6 separate regions of the Homo sapiens genome follow, and regions 1, 2, 3, 4 and 6 are each linked to region 5. Evidence: promoter capture Hi-C in human tissues and cell types (Jung and others, 2019). All regions are on one chromosome and are shown on one strand. Each heading gives the region's core, a stretch centred on a gene start or on the middle of the fragment in contact. The rest is flanking DNA. Distances are from core to core; before and after follow the strand shown.

Region 1 (2,937 bases), core at 350-2,849, 730 kb after region 5:
GTGACTGTTCTTTTACCTTCAGTTAAAAAGCAGTTATATGGAACTAGTCGGGCAAGGTCTATTGCTTTTTATTTCCTTAAGTTGCCACCTCCTTTCAGCTCTAAGTTAATAAAGTTAATTAATTAGAACTATGAGCCAGGCCCTGTTTATAGACATTGGAGAACAGAGTATTCTCTGTAGCCAGTGTAGGAATAAATGTGAATTTGTATGTATTGCTGAAATGTGCATTTTGCCATCCAGTTGCAATTCCTGTTTTTCTGAAAACAAACCTTAAAAATCAAGAAAGGTGAAGGACATTTACATATTTAAGCTGACGGCACCCCTAACAACAAGGCAGGATTGTTTTGTTTAGGAAAGAATTTAAATGAAAGAACTCTCACTATCAGTTCTTAATGTGATTTTGCAGACTTGGGTTTTTCAGAAACAAAACTTAAATTCAACTAGATAGTTTGGGCACACCAGGAAGCAGGTAAAAACTCTGGAAACTTGGGACCGGGGAGCAGCCACGGGGGAGAAGAAGCCCGGCAAATAAAGGAAAGTGAAGATGACGGAGACTCCGAGGGGCAGAGGAAGGCAAGGAAGTCCAGAAATGGAGCAGTCAAGCCCCAGAGCGTCTGTCTGCAGGGGCTGAGGACAACTTTCAAGCAAGAGGGCCAGGAGCCCAAGGCTAGCAGAGTATCAGAAGCGTCTGGCCACCCACAGGTCAGCAGCCAGCACTCTCTCTCCCTTGATGACAGCAGCTGGCTCCAAAAAGGACCATAGCTGTGGAAAGGAAACCTCTAAATGTCTGATAAAGGTGAGTACCAACTCAAGGAACGATCATTTGGAGATACTTTTATTGGTAGATGCCCTTTCAGCAATGGGCTAGAGGTATGATTAGGGTTTTAAAATGCATGATATTTCCTTAGCCAAACCATAGCATTGACCTTTAATTTGAGGGCAGGAGTTGAGGTACAATTTTATTTTTTTGAATAAGCAGTTTGTTCATTTGAATGAGCCAGTATAATGATTAATTTTTTTTTTTTTTTTGAGACAGAGTCTGTCGCCCAGGCTGGAGTGCACTGGTGCGATCTCTGCTCTCTGCAAGCTCTGCCTCCCAGGTTCACACCACTCTCCTGCCTCAGCCTCCCGAGTAGCTAGGACTATAGGCGCCCACCACCACGTCTGGCTAATTTTTAGTAGAGACGGGGTTTCACTGTGTTAGCCAGAATGGTCTCGATCTCCTGACCTCGTGATCCGCCCGCCTAGGCCTCCCAAAGTGCTGGGATTACAGGCATGAGCCACCGTGCCCGGCAGATGATTAATTTTATGTGTCAACTTGACTGGGCTAAAGGATGCCCCAGACAAGCGGTACGGTTTTATTTCTTATTGTGCCTGTGAGGGTGTTTCTGGAAGAGATTTGCATTTGCATACATAGACTGAATAAGGAAGATAGCCCTCCCACTGTAGGTGGGCATCATCCAGTCTCCTGAGGGCCAGAATAGAACAGAAAGTGGAGAAAGTGTAAATCTGCACACTCTACTTCAGTTGCGACATCGTCCTCTCCTGCCCTTTCTCATCGGCCTTCCCGGTTCGTGGACCTTTGAACTCAGACTAGGATTTACATCACGGGCTTTTCTGCTTCTCAGGCCTTTGAGGTTGGACTGGAATTACACCTTCAGCTGGCAGATGGCAGATGGTGGGACTTCTCAGCTTCCAAAAAATCACCTGGTCCAATCCCTCATTATAAACCGTGCACTCTCCCTCTCTCTCTTTCTTTTGTCTGTCTCTCTAAGTGTGTGTGTGTGTGTGTGTGTGTGTGTGTGCATCTTGACAAGGATGTTCCATCCAGGCCAGTGACAAACCCCATGATATGGTTTGGCAGTGTCCCCATCCAAATCTCATCTTGAATTGTAGCTCCCATAATTCCCATGTGTCATGGGAGGGACCTGGTGGGAGGTCTTTCTTGTGCTGTTCTCATGATAGTGAATAAGTCTCATGAGATCTGATGGTTTATAAAGGGGAGTTCCCCTGCACAAGCTCTCTCTTGCCTGCCACCATGTAAGACATCCCTTGCTCTTCTGCCATGATTGTGAGGCCATGTGGAACTGTGAGTCCATTAAACCTCTTTCCTTTATAAATTACCCAGTCTTGGTTATATCTTTATTAGCAGAGTGAGAACAGACTAATACACCCCTGATCCCAGAAAGATCATTGTGCCCTTTCTCATGTTAGTGTAGAGAATTTGGCTGGAACACACAGACAATTGGGTGGTCATTGAGTTGTCCTAGAGCAATGATCCACTGCTAACAAGTTTTCCCCAACAAATATTTAAAGTAACTTAAAAATAATGGAAGTAATCTCATTACATGAGCTTGTATCTCCTTTATTGTTAACATATTTGCATATTTAAACAATATATCAAAGACACCTAGTTTTTATATGCGGAAGTGGGTATTTCAATAATTCATATCAAAATTTTCTGGTAAATCTAAAAAACACAATTTACAACAAGTTGCTCCGAAACTCTTTTAGTTGTTAATATACTATTTACTCAAAAACAGGAACGATTAATGACATTAAAATGATAGTTTACCCAAAAGTGATTATTTCTTGGGTGATTCATTTTTATTTTAAAATATCATAATCTGAAGTAGATCTTCATTTAGCTAGAAACTAAATTATTTAGGCTATAACATACATTTGTGCTAGATTTCCTCTGATTAATTAAGCTTTCTTTGATATGTAAACACATGTAGACTGGAAATACTTTTGGTGATAAGTTGTGTGGCAAACTTTTGTAGGGACTGTGTGACTTTTGGAAAGTAATAGGTCCTAATATGTGAACTGCTAGTTTGATTGAAAACCAAAAAAGTGACATTTATTTTCTTTGCCTTTCATATAAATTATTTAAAATGTTGAAATGTAAGAATTGTAGCTGGCAGTGACCTGGTAATC
Region 2 (2,828 bases), core at 178-2,677, 670 kb after region 5:
CTATGAAAAACAACTGCCATATTAGGCTGATTGAAAATATAGTCATTTTCTAGTCAGCAAATTGCTAGTCTGAAAATTTTTCATGTTCTCTCACCAGACTTGAGCAAAACTTAGCTATGCTGCAAATTATTGTATTTCCCAGACATATATTACATTTCAAAATTTAGCCACATTTTCACTTCTCAGATTTTAGCAGTAGAACACTTTTAACAACTAAAAACAGTAAATTGCTTGATACAGCTCTCTTCTATGTATTATAGAATACAGTCCTTGATAAATAAAAGTTGAAACTCTAGAATAGCTTTTCTTTTCTGGGGCATATATTCCTCACAGCAACAATAGTGCAAGATGCTATCTTATTTTCAACTCATATAGCCAAATTTTGAACTTATAGAAGAATTAAAGTAAACAAAGTACTTTCTATTCCCCAAAGGTGTAAAAATTAGGAAGGTGATTTCTATTATGTGTAATTTTCACAACGATTTCTTTCACTATCTGTGACTACCATAAAGGAAAGCCAGCTCATTTGACGCAATCGGCAATTTATGGCCCATCCCCTTTTGAAAGGATTTAAGGTAGCTTATCTTTTTAAGGATGAAGAAGTGAAAAGTTAATACTGTGATTTATTTTTGAGCTTCCTAACAGCCAGGGGAAAAAGAGGAAATAGAGCTTTTAGAGTGCCAAAACTTGGGCTGCATCTTCTAGGCAAATTCATACTTGAATTTAGGCTCAAGGAAATAAAACCCAAGAAATACCGAGAGTAAGGCCAACCAAGAGTTTTGTGTACCATTTATTCCCCATTATTTATAAGGCCGTGGATTACCCATACTGAGCTCATTCTTTCTATCTGAAAACAGGTGTCTTAAATTCTTTAGACAGTCTCAGGCTCCTAAGCTGGTTTGGAATAAGATCACTCTGCAGTGATAGTTCACACACGAGTTTTTTCTACTACTAGGGTTGCCAAATAAAACATAGAAATGTCAGTTAAATTTAAATTTCAAGTAAACAATGAATACTTAATATAAATATGTCCTAAATGTTGTGTAGGGTATACATATACTAAAAAGTTGTTCATTGTTTATCTAAAATTCATACTTCACTAAATGTACTCATTTTTTATATTATTTTATTTTGCCAAGTCTTGCAACCCTACCCATACTTGCTGGTAAAGCCCCTCACAGTGTATAATAGAGAACTATCCCTTTATCACAAAAACTGAGGGCCCATAGTGACAGCCAATCATATTCTTTTTTTTTTTTTTTTTTTTTAACTTTTAACACATTGAGGTGAACAGATAGATAGACTATCATTTTCTGGCTGGGTGCGGTGGCTCATGCCTGTAATCCCAGCACTTTGGGAGGCCGAGGCGGGCGGATCACGAGGTCAGGAGTTCGAGACCAGCCTGGCCAACATAGTGAAACCCCATCTCTACTAAAAATACAAAAAAAAATTAGCTGGGTGCGGTGGCACACACCTGTAGTCCCAGCTACTTGGGAGGCAGAGGCAGGAGAATTGCTTGAACCCAGGAGGCGGAGATTGCAGCGAGCCGAGATTGCGCCACTGCACACCAGCCCAGGTGACAGTGTGAGACTTCATCTCAAAAAGGAAAAAAAAAAAAGACCATCATTTTCGATCAGTGTCACTTAACAAAGAATCTTTAGACAGTGTACGACAAAACAGACTTTTACCAGGAGACTTGAATACTTCAAGTGAGCTATAGATTGGTGGGGAAAGACCACACACGCACACACATACACACACACACACAATATATAGTTAAATTAGGTTTCCACTTTAATTAGCCAGGGGTATAACATCTTATGGAAAGTTGGATGGATGCGTAGCAGGAGCAGATGTAGCATGTCTCAGAATCCATTGCCTCTAGAAATGAATGGGCACCTGCAGCTACCAGGACACACTGTTGCTGGAAAATAGGGTCTCACTGACTCTAAGAAGCTTAGTTCTTACTGTACTACTGTCTTAGGGTTTACATTCTAGAAGTACACTAACAATCTGGACACCTTGGCTCAAGTGAATATTTTAAACATTGAGCTCTCCTGGTCCTGGAATATATCTCAGTGTCACCAAGAACACATCTGCATTCAGAGTGGGGGAAAGAGTTCACACCCATTAGTCCCTGAACATTATTCTGAAGAGTTATTTTTCCTATAGAGTTTTAGAACCTCTTCCTCATCACTACCAAATAGGAAATCCATTTCTTGGAAGGGGTATGTATGTGCTGGCATGCTGTATAGGTCAGGGTTCTGGCTCAGAGACTAGAATCCAGTTTAAGCAGTGAAGTATTTAATCATGACATTGTAAGTGGATTCGGGGTCATTAGGAGGACTGAAGAAACAATTTAGATCAAGCTTTGATGAGCTACATGTGAAGCCCTAACACAGGCTACCATGGCATTTGCTCCCCGCTCTATGATACAGAAACTGCCTGCTGAATTGGGAAGCTGCTGGCTCCAGAACCTCACTGCCACTCCCTAACAGGAAGTCCCCATGATCAGGAAGCCACCACTGTTACTGCCAGACACAGAACCTTGCAGTGCCTGTTACAATCCACACCAGCATAACAGAGAGCTATCTTTCTGCCTTTTAGTACTACACAGCTAGTGACTAGATACAAGGATGGTTGCTGGTGCTATGAGAGAAAACCAAATGCTTCCACAGTCACACTTGCAAGAAACCCCACAAAAACGTGGCCTCCACCTTACTTCCAACATCCTAACCGTGAGCAATTTGAAGATTGGCCAAACCAAATCACATCCAAACTGCATGGGGTCTCTGATGTGGTTTTTAGCTTCTAGCCACTGCAGTACA
Region 3 (2,894 bases), core at 179-2,678, 620 kb after region 5:
CATGCCACTGCACTCCAGTCTGGGCGACAGAGCAAGACTCCATCTCAAAAAAAAAAAAAGAAAAAGACTTCCTTCATTTGTAACATATCTAAAACAGTGCTTGAAACATTTAATAATAAGCAGGCATTTCATACATGTCCTGTAATTTACCATGGATTTTATCTGTGAATTTCTTTCCCTATATTTGTATATCACTTAGCAATTTATCAAGTGCTTTCATTTGTATTATCTCATTTGATTCCCTCATTAACCCTAGACAGGTATTGTCTGTATTGCATATGTCAGGAATGATTATGTATATAATAGTCTAGTGTCTCACAGGTAGTTAGTTGAAAGCTCAGACTAGAATGCAAGTTGTTTTACTTCATTATTGTATTCTTCCCATTATGCATGTGAGAGTGAAGGCCAAAAATAGCCATCTGCTCTGGAGGATGAGAGCAGGGGTAGAGGTTCCAGGTGGACAGTGATGGACGAGAGAAAGAATGTTTGTAGAGAATCACAGGCAGTTGCCTTTAGCTAAAGAACAGGTTGGGATGGTTGGAAGTAAGAGATACAATTGGAAATACAATTGAAATCATTGTTGGGGTAGGAATAAGAGTTTGGACTTTATCTGTCAAAATCCATTTGAGCAAAAAAAAGAAAATTAAAAATAAAAATGAAAAAAAGAGTTGGAACTTTATATTGTAAGAACTGAGATATATTGAAACTTTGTGACCGGGGGAACTGAAGATCATTTCTGCTGTAGGACTTACTTATCAGTAATGCATGGGCAGAATTAGGGAGAAACTGGAAGCAATGTGACTAGGCAACTCATGCAGTATTCCAGATAAAAAATAATTCAGTTCTGTAATACCAACATAAAGTGTAGTTAGAAAAGGAACAGCAGATTAGTTCAGGAGATAATGGGGAGTTTCAGTCTATAGTATTTGACAACTAAATAGATGTATGAGACAAGGGAAAAGGAAGAAAGAAAGCTGTGTTGTTTAGAATGGTGGCGGGAATGTATTCCCATCTCTTCCCTGGACCCCTGTCCATCTATGAGCTTTATTCTCATGCATAATCAACCCTTCCAGCTGACCATCTTAGCTAATTTAGTCAACATATATTTAGCTAATTTAGTCAACATATATTTAGCTAATTTAGCCAGCATATATTTATTGAACACTCTCTATATAATAGTCGCATTTTGCCAGGTGTTGAAGATAAATGAAATCTATAATCCCTGCCCTCAGTGGGCTCGTGGTTTAGTGGTAGAAAGAGTCACATAAACAATATAACATTGTAAAGAATTTATTGGTATATGTATTACAGACCACTGGGACACAGAGGGGCACCTAGTTTATGCCACATGGGTCAGGAAAGGATTCTCAGTTCTCCGTTTTGAAGGAAGGGTAAGAGCTAGCTTGGTGAAGAAAGTGAGACAGATGTTCTGTGTAGATATAATAGCATGTTCAAAGGCATGAAGTAATAAACATGAGACTGTGTAAGTTGTTTTGTGAGCCTAAAACTGTCAGCATTTATTGCCTAAGAACAATGAGATTATTCTAGTGAACCATAATACAGTTATCACACTCTGATAACTTAACATTGGTACAATGTAATTATCTGATACCCAGTCCATATTCAAATTTCTCCAGTTATCCCAATAACGTCATATATAACTTCTTTCAATTCAGGGGTTAATCAGGGACTCCTCTATACTTCATTGTCGTTCCTCTTTAGTCTCTTTTAATCTAGAACAGTTCTCTAGCCTTTTCTTCTCTCTTTCTCTATTTCTTCCTCTCTTTATCTTTCATGATATTGATACATTTTTAGATCCTAGGCCAGTTGTGTCACAGAATGTCCCTTACTTTGGACTTCTATGATTGTTGCCTTGCATTCAGATTCAAGTTAAATATTTTTGTGCGAAGTGCTACACAGGTTAAGTTGTGCATCACTTCAGGAGGCAATTGATATCAGCATATTCCACATTGTTGGTAATGTCAAATTTGATTATTTGGATAAGGTGGTATCTACCAGATTTCTCTATATCCTGTTCCTCTACATCCCTTATGCACAATAGTTTTTGCAACCGTTGATGACTCCTGCCTGAATCATTTCTTACTATGTGAATTGTAATGTGGTGAATTTTGTAGTTCCCTCATATCTTTGACATCTATTAGTTGACACTGTTCTTTAAAGAGGAACTCTCCTTCCTACATTTTTATTACTATGTATTTTTTAGTATCACTATGGATGCATGATTCTTTTTTCCTCAGTGTGCAATAATCCCATTCCCATGATTATTTATTTGATACTCAGTTGTCCTAAATTTGGCCAAGGCAATGTTTCAATCTGGCTTCTTTGTCTTTTCAACATATCACTATCTATTTTTGAGCACTTTCTTATTTTCTGGCACAACAATATGTTTCTGACTCATTTCACACTTTCTTGGCCTCAGTTCTAGAATCAGCCATTTCTGTAAGCATTGTCATTCCTTTTAGGGAGTAATGGTATGTAGAAACCAAGATCTGAGGGCGAGAGAGGTCATTAGAAACGAAGATTTTAGGACTAGTAACGGTAGCTAGAAACCAAGATCCAAATGCTCATTGATGCTACTATAGTGTTATAGGAAAAGGGTTTTTTTGTTTGTTTGTTTGTTTGTTTTGTTTTGTTAAGCCTTGAGCTTACATTAATACCTATACATCCAATCCAACCCTTCTTGGTTCTTTTTCTTTTTCTCCAATTCCATATTTCCATTTTCTTTCCCACAGTGAGCACATCGGCACATTTACACATCTGCTCCAGCTTTTATACACACACAATAGTCTGAGAATCACTACATCAATACCACTACCAACAATAAATTTACTAAGAAGAAAGTTCACATTTTCTTTATAGTTTTTTTCCCTTAA
Region 4 (2,868 bases), core at 250-2,749, 590 kb after region 5:
CTGGTGAGTACTATCAAATTTGTTATTTATTCTATGTATACTTAAGATTTATATGGGCTGCTTTATTAGTATATTAATGAACTTAGTGAAAAAGGAAAATACAACCACTTGTTTCTGTAATTAAACCATAGAACAATTCTTTCTTTATGGTCTTCTTTCCCTTCCATTTACTAACGAGTAGTGTAGTGTCTTCATTCCAGTGTTGGTCATAGGTGATTTGGTCCTCTGTTATGCTGTTTTCGTTCCAGCGTATTCACGTTTCTTTAATTACTACCTCAATAATCAATCTTTAATAATGTATGTCAGTTAATAAAGTAACTGTCAGAAATGGACTGTGGAAAATTCTATAGGACATGTAACCCGGTTTCTTCAACAAAATATCCCAAGGGAGGGAAAAAAAGTGATGGAGGATAAACATTGTTTAAAAGAAAGAGACTTAAGCGACATATCAGCCAATTGTAATGTATGGAATTTATGTGTATTCCAATCTGTGGTCCCAGCTACTCGGGAGGTTGAGGTGGGAGGATCGCCTGAGCCTGGAAGGTTGAGGCTGCAGTATGCCTTGATCTTGACACTGCACTCCAGCCTGGGAGACAGAGTGAGATTTTGTTTCAAAAAAACAACAAAAAGAAAAAAGCAGTCTGAACATTTTGGATACTTTTTTTTTTCTTGTAAACATGACAAAATTGTTGTCAATATGTTTCAAAGTATCTTTTAGAGACTGGTACTGAAATTTTACAGAAACATATGTATATATGTATTTCAAGAAGCTAAAAGATACCACTTATTTAGAAGCAAAAGAATTATGTAAAATATAGTTATATTTTCATTCCCTGAAAAATTTGGCTTTTCTACTTCCAAGTCAGTAAGGATTGAACAAGGCTTTAATTAAAATCCATCCGCTTCACTGCTAAATCACCATAGTTTACAATTCAGGGTTGCAAATTCACCTAAGGTTTCCCCAGGAATAGACAGAGATGCCTACTTTGCCTTCTTTACTTTCACTTTACAGGTATATTTTTATGCTTACTAAAGCGAAACGAGTACCTTAATGTATTGCACTTGTTTCTTCCTGGGAAGAAAAATCATCTAAGCACAATTTCTTGTTTATATTTGAAATTCAGGGAATATTCTCAGAATTATTTTTAAGTATGAATAAAAATGGAGATCAGAAAGATTTAGTATTTATTTTTAAAATATGCTTCTGGAAAGAATTTTAAATTAATATATTACTTCCTAATTTACAGAAGATTCTGGTGTTTGAACATTAGCTTTTTTTTTTTTTTTTGAGATGGAGTTTCGCTCTTCTTGCCCAGGCTGGAGTGCAATGGCGCGATCTCGGCTCACTGCAACTTCTGCCTCCTGGGTTCGAGGGATTCTCCTGCCTCAAGCCTCCCGAGTGGCTGGGATTACAGGGGCCCGCCACCATGCCCGGCTAATTTTGTATTTTTAGTAGAGACCGAGTTTCGCCGTGTTGGCCAGGCTGGTCTTTAACTCCTGACCTCAGGTGACCCACCCACCTCAGCCTCCCAAAGTGCTGGGATTACAGGCGTGAGCCACTGCTCCCAGCCTGAACATTAGCTCTTTTAGCGTTGTCTATAGTTATCTAGATGAGTTGCTAGATGGCAGATTGGATGTATTGTTTGTGGGTTTTGCCCAGGGTCTGATCACACAGAGTGTCTCAGTAATTCTCTCTTATACCAATTTGAAAGATTGAAACTTGATAGGGCAAAGAAATTCTAATAAAACTTCCAATGTAATGTCAGTGATGTTTTAATTTAAATTTATGTCTCCCTAAGGAAGCTTTCACTTTTAAGAATAAGTTTATTTCTCAAATTTATTTACATTATCGAAAACACCTAAAAAATAGTAGATCAAAAGGCTGTTACCCATAATCTTCCTATCCAAAAAATCACTGTAAACATTTCTGCACACTGTTCTTTCAGTTTTAAATTTTTCTGCCTTCTAATAGTAGCTATGATCCTAGTAAATATGCAATTCAGTGTCTCACTTTATGTTGCTGAACTTTTGAATGTTTCATGTTATTCATAGCTTGTAATTCTTATAATTTTTAATATATATATGATTGATTCCACTGGTTGTGCCATATACAATTTAACTTGCATTAGTCAGTAATGAAGTCATGGAACAATAGTTATTGCTGACTTTTCAATGTGATTAATCTTTTTGTCCATAAATAGAAAATGTTTGTAATTATTTTATTGGACATGGAATAGAAAAGGATATTTTTAAGACTTTTGATGCATACTTACAAACTGATTTTCAGAAGCATAACTTTAATTTTCTCAACTTTCAACATTGGGTTATGATTGTGCCTTGGTTGAATATTCTTATTTTTTAAGATTTTTGCTAATTTTATAGATTTTAAAATTATGTTTTATTATCTTAATTTGCATTTCTTTGAGTATTACTAAAGTTGGACTTTTAAAAAGCGTTTATAAGTTCATTTTTAGTTCCTCTGTTGTGAATTGTTATCTTTTTCTTATTGATTTGTACAAGTTAGCTCAGTATGTATTCATATTTACATTTTAAATACCTCCTTCTAATGTGGCTTTTTTATTTCTATATCTTGATATATATAAAACTTTTATTTTCATTCTATGATGTTTTAATATTTGCCTTTGTGATTTTTTTCTGTCACCTTTAAGTTTAGAAAATCATCCTTTCACTGATTTCATATCAACTTCATTTCTTTTCTAGTTTTGATTATTTATAATATGACTGTACTCTACTTATTTATAATCTTCCCTTAATCATATATTTGATATATAGGTTTTAATATAAAAGGATCTGTTTCTAAATTTTACCAAAAGCATTCTAATATTTAGCCATCAATTGTGTTTAATA
Region 5 (2,700 bases), core at 114-2,613:
GCTTCTTCAAAGCACAGTTGTGATTATATCCCTCTACTGATCAAAAACTTTATTCACAAAATCAAATCCACATCTTTCACGAACCATATAGATCTTGTGTAGGTTCTGCAAAACAATAAGCGCTTCCCTGTGTCATCTCCAGCAGCTCTGTGCTAGAAAGCCTTTTCCTTACCATCTTTCCAAGTCCACTTTAGGAAAGTAACTCTCCCTCCCATTCCACAGTGCACTCATCTGTTCCTCTGTACGTACGGTTTATCACTATTCCCCCTGGTTTTGTTTGGTCTTTTAATGCCTCACTCTTTCTCCTAAAGCAGTAATTGCAGAGAGCCGTTGCAAATCTTTTTCATCCCCGTTCCTACCCTTCATCCCAGAATGTGCCTGTGCAAGCCTGGGAAAAGCGTTACTGAATTAAACGGGATGATTACAACCGTAATGGCCGCAATTCCAGAAACTGCCTAATTTCGCATAATTTTGTATTGTTTTCAAATCCTGAAAATCTTGACACGAAAGGCCTCTTAAAATCAGAACACCATCCTTTCAAGAAAAGTTCTACCGAGCACCCCCACGAGTTGACATTGCGGTCATTCTTAGCTCCAGAAGTTGTGTGTGTGCCGCGGAAGGCAGATTCACACTGGTCCACACTGTACTTTGAAATAAGGGGTAAGAAGAGGCGGCTCCGGCCGCAGCGCGGGCTGTGCTCTGCTCTGCCCTCAACTTCCTATGGGCCCGCGGGCTCCGGCCGCGTTCGTCCCTCTCCGCCGCACTTCGTTCCCAGCCCTCGCCTCCCGATCCCGCTGCAGAAACACCCCCTCCCCGGAGAAGCCGCGCGGACGGCGCTGCAGGTCCTCCCCGGCGCTCCGGTCGGCCGGGGTCTGGGCCGCCACCCGCCCGGCTCGCGGCCCCCGGCCTCTCCCCAGGCCCGCCGCCCGCCGCCCGGGGCCCAGGCCCGCCGCCCGGGGCCCAGGCCGCCGCCGCCGCCGCCTCCAGGGGACCTAGGGGAACTCGCAGGGCTCCGCGTGGCGCCGGGGGCGGAGCCGGCCCGAAGGGCCCGGGGAGAGGCCGGGGGCGGACGACAGCCTCCGCCTACCCCGACACGCACCCCGCCGCCCCCAACCCAACCTCCCTGGGGCCCCGGCCCGCACCCGCGGCCCGGCAGCCGGCGGGACTCGCCACTTACCAACCCGCCTGGGACAACGCCGCGCCGGCCACCTGGGCCATGGTAGCTGCTTAGGCCGGGGGTGGTGGGGGGCTGGGGTGGGGGTGATGGGGAGGCCTCCTACTTGAGACCCCCCCCCTTAAAAAAAAAAAAAGAAAAGAAAAGAAAAAACTCCTCTGGTCGGCTCTGCAACTGGGCATGCTCAGTGCGGCCGGCGCTTCCGCGTGCGGGTTCCGCTCGCCGCGTTTTCTGAGCGGCCGTAGGGGCCGGCCTGGTGTGGGGCTCCCAGGCTGCGGAGCTCCGGGACCTGATCCACCAAACACCGGCTGGTGGCTGGAGTCAGGACGGTTCAGGGACTTTGCCTCTTCCCCGAAGGCTTTTACTTGTTTTGGGGGGCGCTTTTCTGAGTTGCACACCTTGGAAAGTCGCGAGGAGGTTCTTCGTAGAGCAAAAGTGTGGCGTTTGCAGCGCCCACAGGCGGCCACCTCAGAGAGGGCAGGATAAGGCCTGAGGAGACTGACGGGTTGGCTGCGAGGGAACGCGTCCAGGACCGCGCTAAAAAGGTCACGTTGCGGGCAGCAAAACTCAGAGGTGTCCCCAGCCCATTCTGCACAAAAGTTTACTTTCTTATAAACACTCGTTCCCTTCACCTCGCCTTTTGGTCCGCCCGGACGCAAAGAAAAAATGCAGCTCAAGCTTTTTTGAGTCCCCGCGGGCAGATCGAGTTGCCCCAGTCGGACACCACAGTGAAAATGCCCTGGTCAGCCCAAGAAAACCTGCTTTTAGGGGACATGGGGAAATGGGGCAGTTGTGTCAGTGCTTGTTTTTCCTGTTGCCCTCCCCCTGGGACCATCCGTGTCCTAGCGCGGCCCTGCCACCTTGGCTCTGTACTGCCAGATCTGGCAACCACAGCCGCTTCCCCGCCGATGCCCTTCGCCCGCGCTGTAGAGGGCTGGGGCGCAGGGTGGGTCCCTGAGTGGGCATGCGCGCCGCCGTCGCCCAGCGGCACGGCGGACGCTACCGCGCGATTGGGCGTCCGTGACTCACGCTGGCCAATCAGAGAGGAACAGGCGGAAGGGTACGCGGGCCCAAGAGGCGCTCCCTAAAAGTTTGCTCCACCTTCTTGGTCTTTCACCTCTGCGGCGTCCCGTATTGCGGGGAAAAAGGCTTCTAAGGGGCAGCGTCCCCATCTGCCAGGTCAGGGGAAGAAGACTGTTAGGAACTTAATCCCTATCTCCGCCGCTTGCCGCTGCCCCTGCTTCTAAGGGCATCATCAAAAACAGACTTGGAGCAGAGACTGCGGAACTGGGCAGAGGCGCTCTTGGGATTGGGGAGGAAATTGGCAGTTACGGAAGGAAGGGGATAATTGCCCTGGGTGGAGCTAAAATTCCTTAATACAGATTTTTCTCATTTCAGCTGGGGTATTCCGTTTGGTCTTCCCAAAAGTCATAGTTATAAAATCGCGATGCTTTCGTTAGATGGAATGCTATTGAGATTTGCTCCCAAGTATATTGTTTAGATAATTTTAGATCACAAGTAGCTCC
Region 6 (2,894 bases), core at 229-2,728, 710 kb after region 5:
TTCTCCTTGATTCTGGTGCACCAGATATATACTTGGGAAACTGTCTAATCAAATTTTATTCTCTATTAGGAGCCATCTGTTTGCTGATGACGACTCTGTTTGTTTTTTATTTTAGTGCAATCCATTTTCAATCCTTCATCGGTTTTATCATACCACCTGCACTTCCCATTTTCCCAGCTCATTCCTTCCTTCCTCTTGTGTGGGTGAAGAAGGAGACAGGGTGTGGACAGCAGGAGGCCGCCGTACTCCTAACAGAATACTTGAGGCTCAAATTCTTCTCTCTGACTGATTAGAATGCCTCTCTCCCCAGGTAGTCCAGGCCTTCTTTACTTTCTCCCCTGTATTTAAGCTTCCTCAGAAATCTTGTGGCCTTTCAGGAGACTTTCTTGCAGCAGAAGAAAGAAGGTGCTAAATTCTTGCAATCTTTAACTTTCTATAACAAGAGATTCACAATTATCTCTCCCTCAATCATTGCTTTCTTTCTGTGCCTGGGGATTGACTAGTACATAATAAAGATGAAACCCAGTCTACGTAGTTGATTGCTTTTTGGTGAAACTCTATTACATAAACATCTTCTATGTGAAATTTCCAACATAATTTGATACTAAAATGTTAGTATTAGTTAACCCATGTTATGTGAGTTTTTTTCATTGTCTTCATATATTCATCTGCATGAGTGTGGCCTGTCTTGAATCCTAACCATCCACTAAATGGGTACTTGGTAGCATTTTTAATAGATTTTTCCTTTACGTAAAGTTCCCTGCAAGTTGTTTCTGATGTATCTAATCCTATTGTTACTCAAAACTGAAATGAGACCCTGCCCTTATGAAGCATGATTTCACTTAAACTATCTCTAGGTGGACCTCACTCCACCAAAATTCTATTGTATTTATTATGTGCACAATTCATTTGACACTTGAGTGACACTAAAAATGAGTCAACATAAGCTCCTCTTTTGTCCCTGGTCCCTTTCAGACCAATGACAGTACCTTAAACTTCTTGGTGGTTCCTAGCTCTGTGTCTTATGCATATAGGTGCTCAATAAACATTTATGGATTCATTATTCATTTATGTTTGGACTTACTTGTGAGGTTGAAATGTTCAATTGATCCACTTTTTGACCTTTTCAGTTATTATTTTTTTGTCAGTGGTTTTGATTATTCAGGTGCACTTTTACCATCAATAGGTCATATCTATAAATAGAAGTCTAGAGACATTTTTAATATGTTTGGGGAAAGAATAAAGAAATTCAGATTTTAAAATTGCAGGTGAATATTGTGCTAGTGATTAGCTTGGCCAACATACTTTGAAACAATTTATCAAGCTGAGAAAAAGACAACAATAGAGCCATCCCTTATGACCACAATTTCTATGGCTTCCTTCAAAAATAGCCATTTTAAAGTTTTTGTTTCCTTCTTCTTTTAATCTCTCATGTTATGAATAATATTTAGCTGAACTCCCAAAGCAACTGGGGGAAGAAAATCTTTGGTATTGATTTTGGATAAAATATGAGACATTTACTTTTGTGAATGCTAATCTCTGAAGGCTTCAATACAATCTTTTGTTCTCTGGGTTCTTGTGTCATTCAAAGATTTAAATTTAGACACCAATATGTTTTTGACCACAAGAAAGCCCTCTGAAACACCTAAGTATTAAAGTTTTAGTTGTTAATATCTATAGGATTTCATTATTTTAATTACCATCTCAGCAATTCCCAGTGGGTAATAATGGCATGTGGTTGTCCTGCCTGTACTTCTATGGGCAGTTCATCGAATAATCATCCTTATGTTACACTACATTGTGGTTCATTGTCTCTCTGAACTTTTTATTTTATCCATATTTGCTTAGCAACCAAGTTATAATTGTTTAAAATTTATCCTAACATTCTCTGAGTTTTTTCAATATATCATTTCAAGACACTAAGAGGAGATGTCAGATTTTGTCCTGACGTCTTATCAAAAGGGTTAAAACTCTACTTCCTGTATTCTTAGCCTCATAAAATCCTTTCTTCCTATAAATTCCAAAATATGACTGATCACAAAGCATATTAATAGATCTAAAAATGGGTGTGTTTTCTTTAAAACTGTATTTGTTGGAGACAAATACTTATACTCCATCAAAAGTTTTATCAGCTATAATTCCCTCTTATAATTGTTTTTAAAAGTCCAAACTAAGTTATTTTGCTCTGGTTGAGGCATGTTGGCTGATTTTTAGACTTGGATGAATTTCATTGTAAATTGCTGTTGGATGTGACTGGAGTACCCAGGAACTGTCAGGATGGCTCAGTGATTTAACGCTGGTGTCCTGCAGCTTTGACTGTAATCAGCAGATGCTGTGGTATTACCATAAATGTTTTCCTAACTGCTTCTGTCAAAAAGAGAAAATTCTTCCTGCACTGAGTCTGCTGCTTCTGATTAAATTCATTTTGCCTTCTTTTGCATAATTAATGTCCCATGATGATCTCTAACCTTTTGTTTTTAATATTGCCTCTTGGTCTAGACTCAGTCTTTACAGGGAAGCTCAACTAAGAGCAGACAAAGAGAAATGGTTGGTGCTTTTACATGAACCCCTAGCACCTCCATGGCTCTGAAGTCGTTACTGTTTTATATACCATGACTTGTCAAAGACCATGAAAGCTTCTGGTGTTTGCAATGTTTTTCATTGTTGTCCTAGTGCTCTATTCTACTTCAGAAGGCTATTTCTGTAATGCTTTGGTGCACATGGTTTTGCCTGAGGATGTGTGATGATAGGGTCTGCTTTAGAATGTTCTTACCCTGGTTGTGTAAATTGATAAACCTCTGACACAAGCCAGGCAAAAGGCTTCCTATTCTCCCGCAAAACTTTCTATACCCCTAGCCCGAAATAACTCAGAGATTATATTTGCTACAACAAAG

Evidence for each region. The method cuts DNA at HindIII sites, captures the fragments that hold promoters and counts their contacts. A contact is called where the count stands out against the background at its distance.
Region 1: a contact is called between a fragment that was not itself captured here and the fragment with the promoter of TDRD3 in region 5, in 2 of the 25 tissues and cell types used here (H1 embryonic stem cells and mesendoderm cells).
Region 2: a contact is called between a fragment that was not itself captured here and the fragment with the promoter of TDRD3 in region 5, in 3 of the 25 tissues and cell types used here (dorsolateral prefrontal cortex, lymphoblastoid cells and mesendoderm cells).
Region 3: a fragment that was not itself captured here is called in contact with the fragment with the promoter of TDRD3 in region 5 in 1 of the 25 tissues and cell types used here (lymphoblastoid cells).
Region 4: a fragment that was not itself captured here is called in contact with the fragment with the promoter of TDRD3 in region 5 in 1 of the 25 tissues and cell types used here (lymphoblastoid cells).
Region 6: a fragment that was not itself captured here is called in contact with the fragment with the promoter of TDRD3 in region 5 in 1 of the 25 tissues and cell types used here (lymphoblastoid cells).

What each region holds. Positions count from the first base shown.
Region 1 is chr13:59,662,534-59,665,470 of GRCh38, reverse strand. No RefSeq gene overlaps it. Among named protein-coding and RNA genes, the nearest start is that of DIAPH3-AS1, 350 kb to the left of the region's middle. The HindIII fragment of the contact is 6,973 bases long and covers 1-2,937 here.
Region 2 is chr13:59,722,400-59,725,227 of GRCh38, reverse strand. All of the region lies in intron 27 of DIAPH3 (diaphanous related formin 3), which reads left to right. Among named protein-coding and RNA genes, the nearest start is that of DIAPH3-AS1, 290 kb to the left of the region's middle. The HindIII fragment of the contact is 4,835 bases long and covers 1-2,828 here.
Region 3 is chr13:59,776,682-59,779,575 of GRCh38, reverse strand. The region is part of intron 25 of DIAPH3 (diaphanous related formin 3); the gene reads left to right. Among named protein-coding and RNA genes, the nearest start is that of DIAPH3-AS1, 230 kb to the left of the region's middle. The HindIII fragment of the contact is 9,017 bases long and covers 1-2,894 here.
Region 4 is chr13:59,807,923-59,810,790 of GRCh38, reverse strand. It overlaps DIAPH3 (diaphanous related formin 3), which reads left to right. Exons shown (of 28, transcript NM_001042517.2): 25 at 1-3. Among named protein-coding and RNA genes, the nearest start is that of DIAPH3-AS1, 200 kb to the left of the region's middle. The HindIII fragment of the contact is 5,884 bases long and covers 1-2,868 here.
Region 5 is chr13:60,395,883-60,398,582 of GRCh38, reverse strand. It overlaps TDRD3 (tudor domain containing 3), which reads right to left and starts at 1,363. Exons shown (of 14, transcript NM_001146070.2): 1 at 1,178-1,363. The coding sequence starts at 1,218. RefSeq lists enhancers at 512-561, 1,442-1,641, 1,491-2,003, 1,712-2,041, 2,372-2,441 and a silencer at 732-1,301. The HindIII fragment of the contact is 4,558 bases long and covers 598-2,700 here.
Region 6 is chr13:59,686,639-59,689,532 of GRCh38, reverse strand. All of the region lies in intron 27 of DIAPH3 (diaphanous related formin 3), which reads left to right. Among named protein-coding and RNA genes, the nearest start is that of DIAPH3-AS1, 320 kb to the left of the region's middle. The HindIII fragment of the contact is 4,477 bases long and covers 1-2,894 here.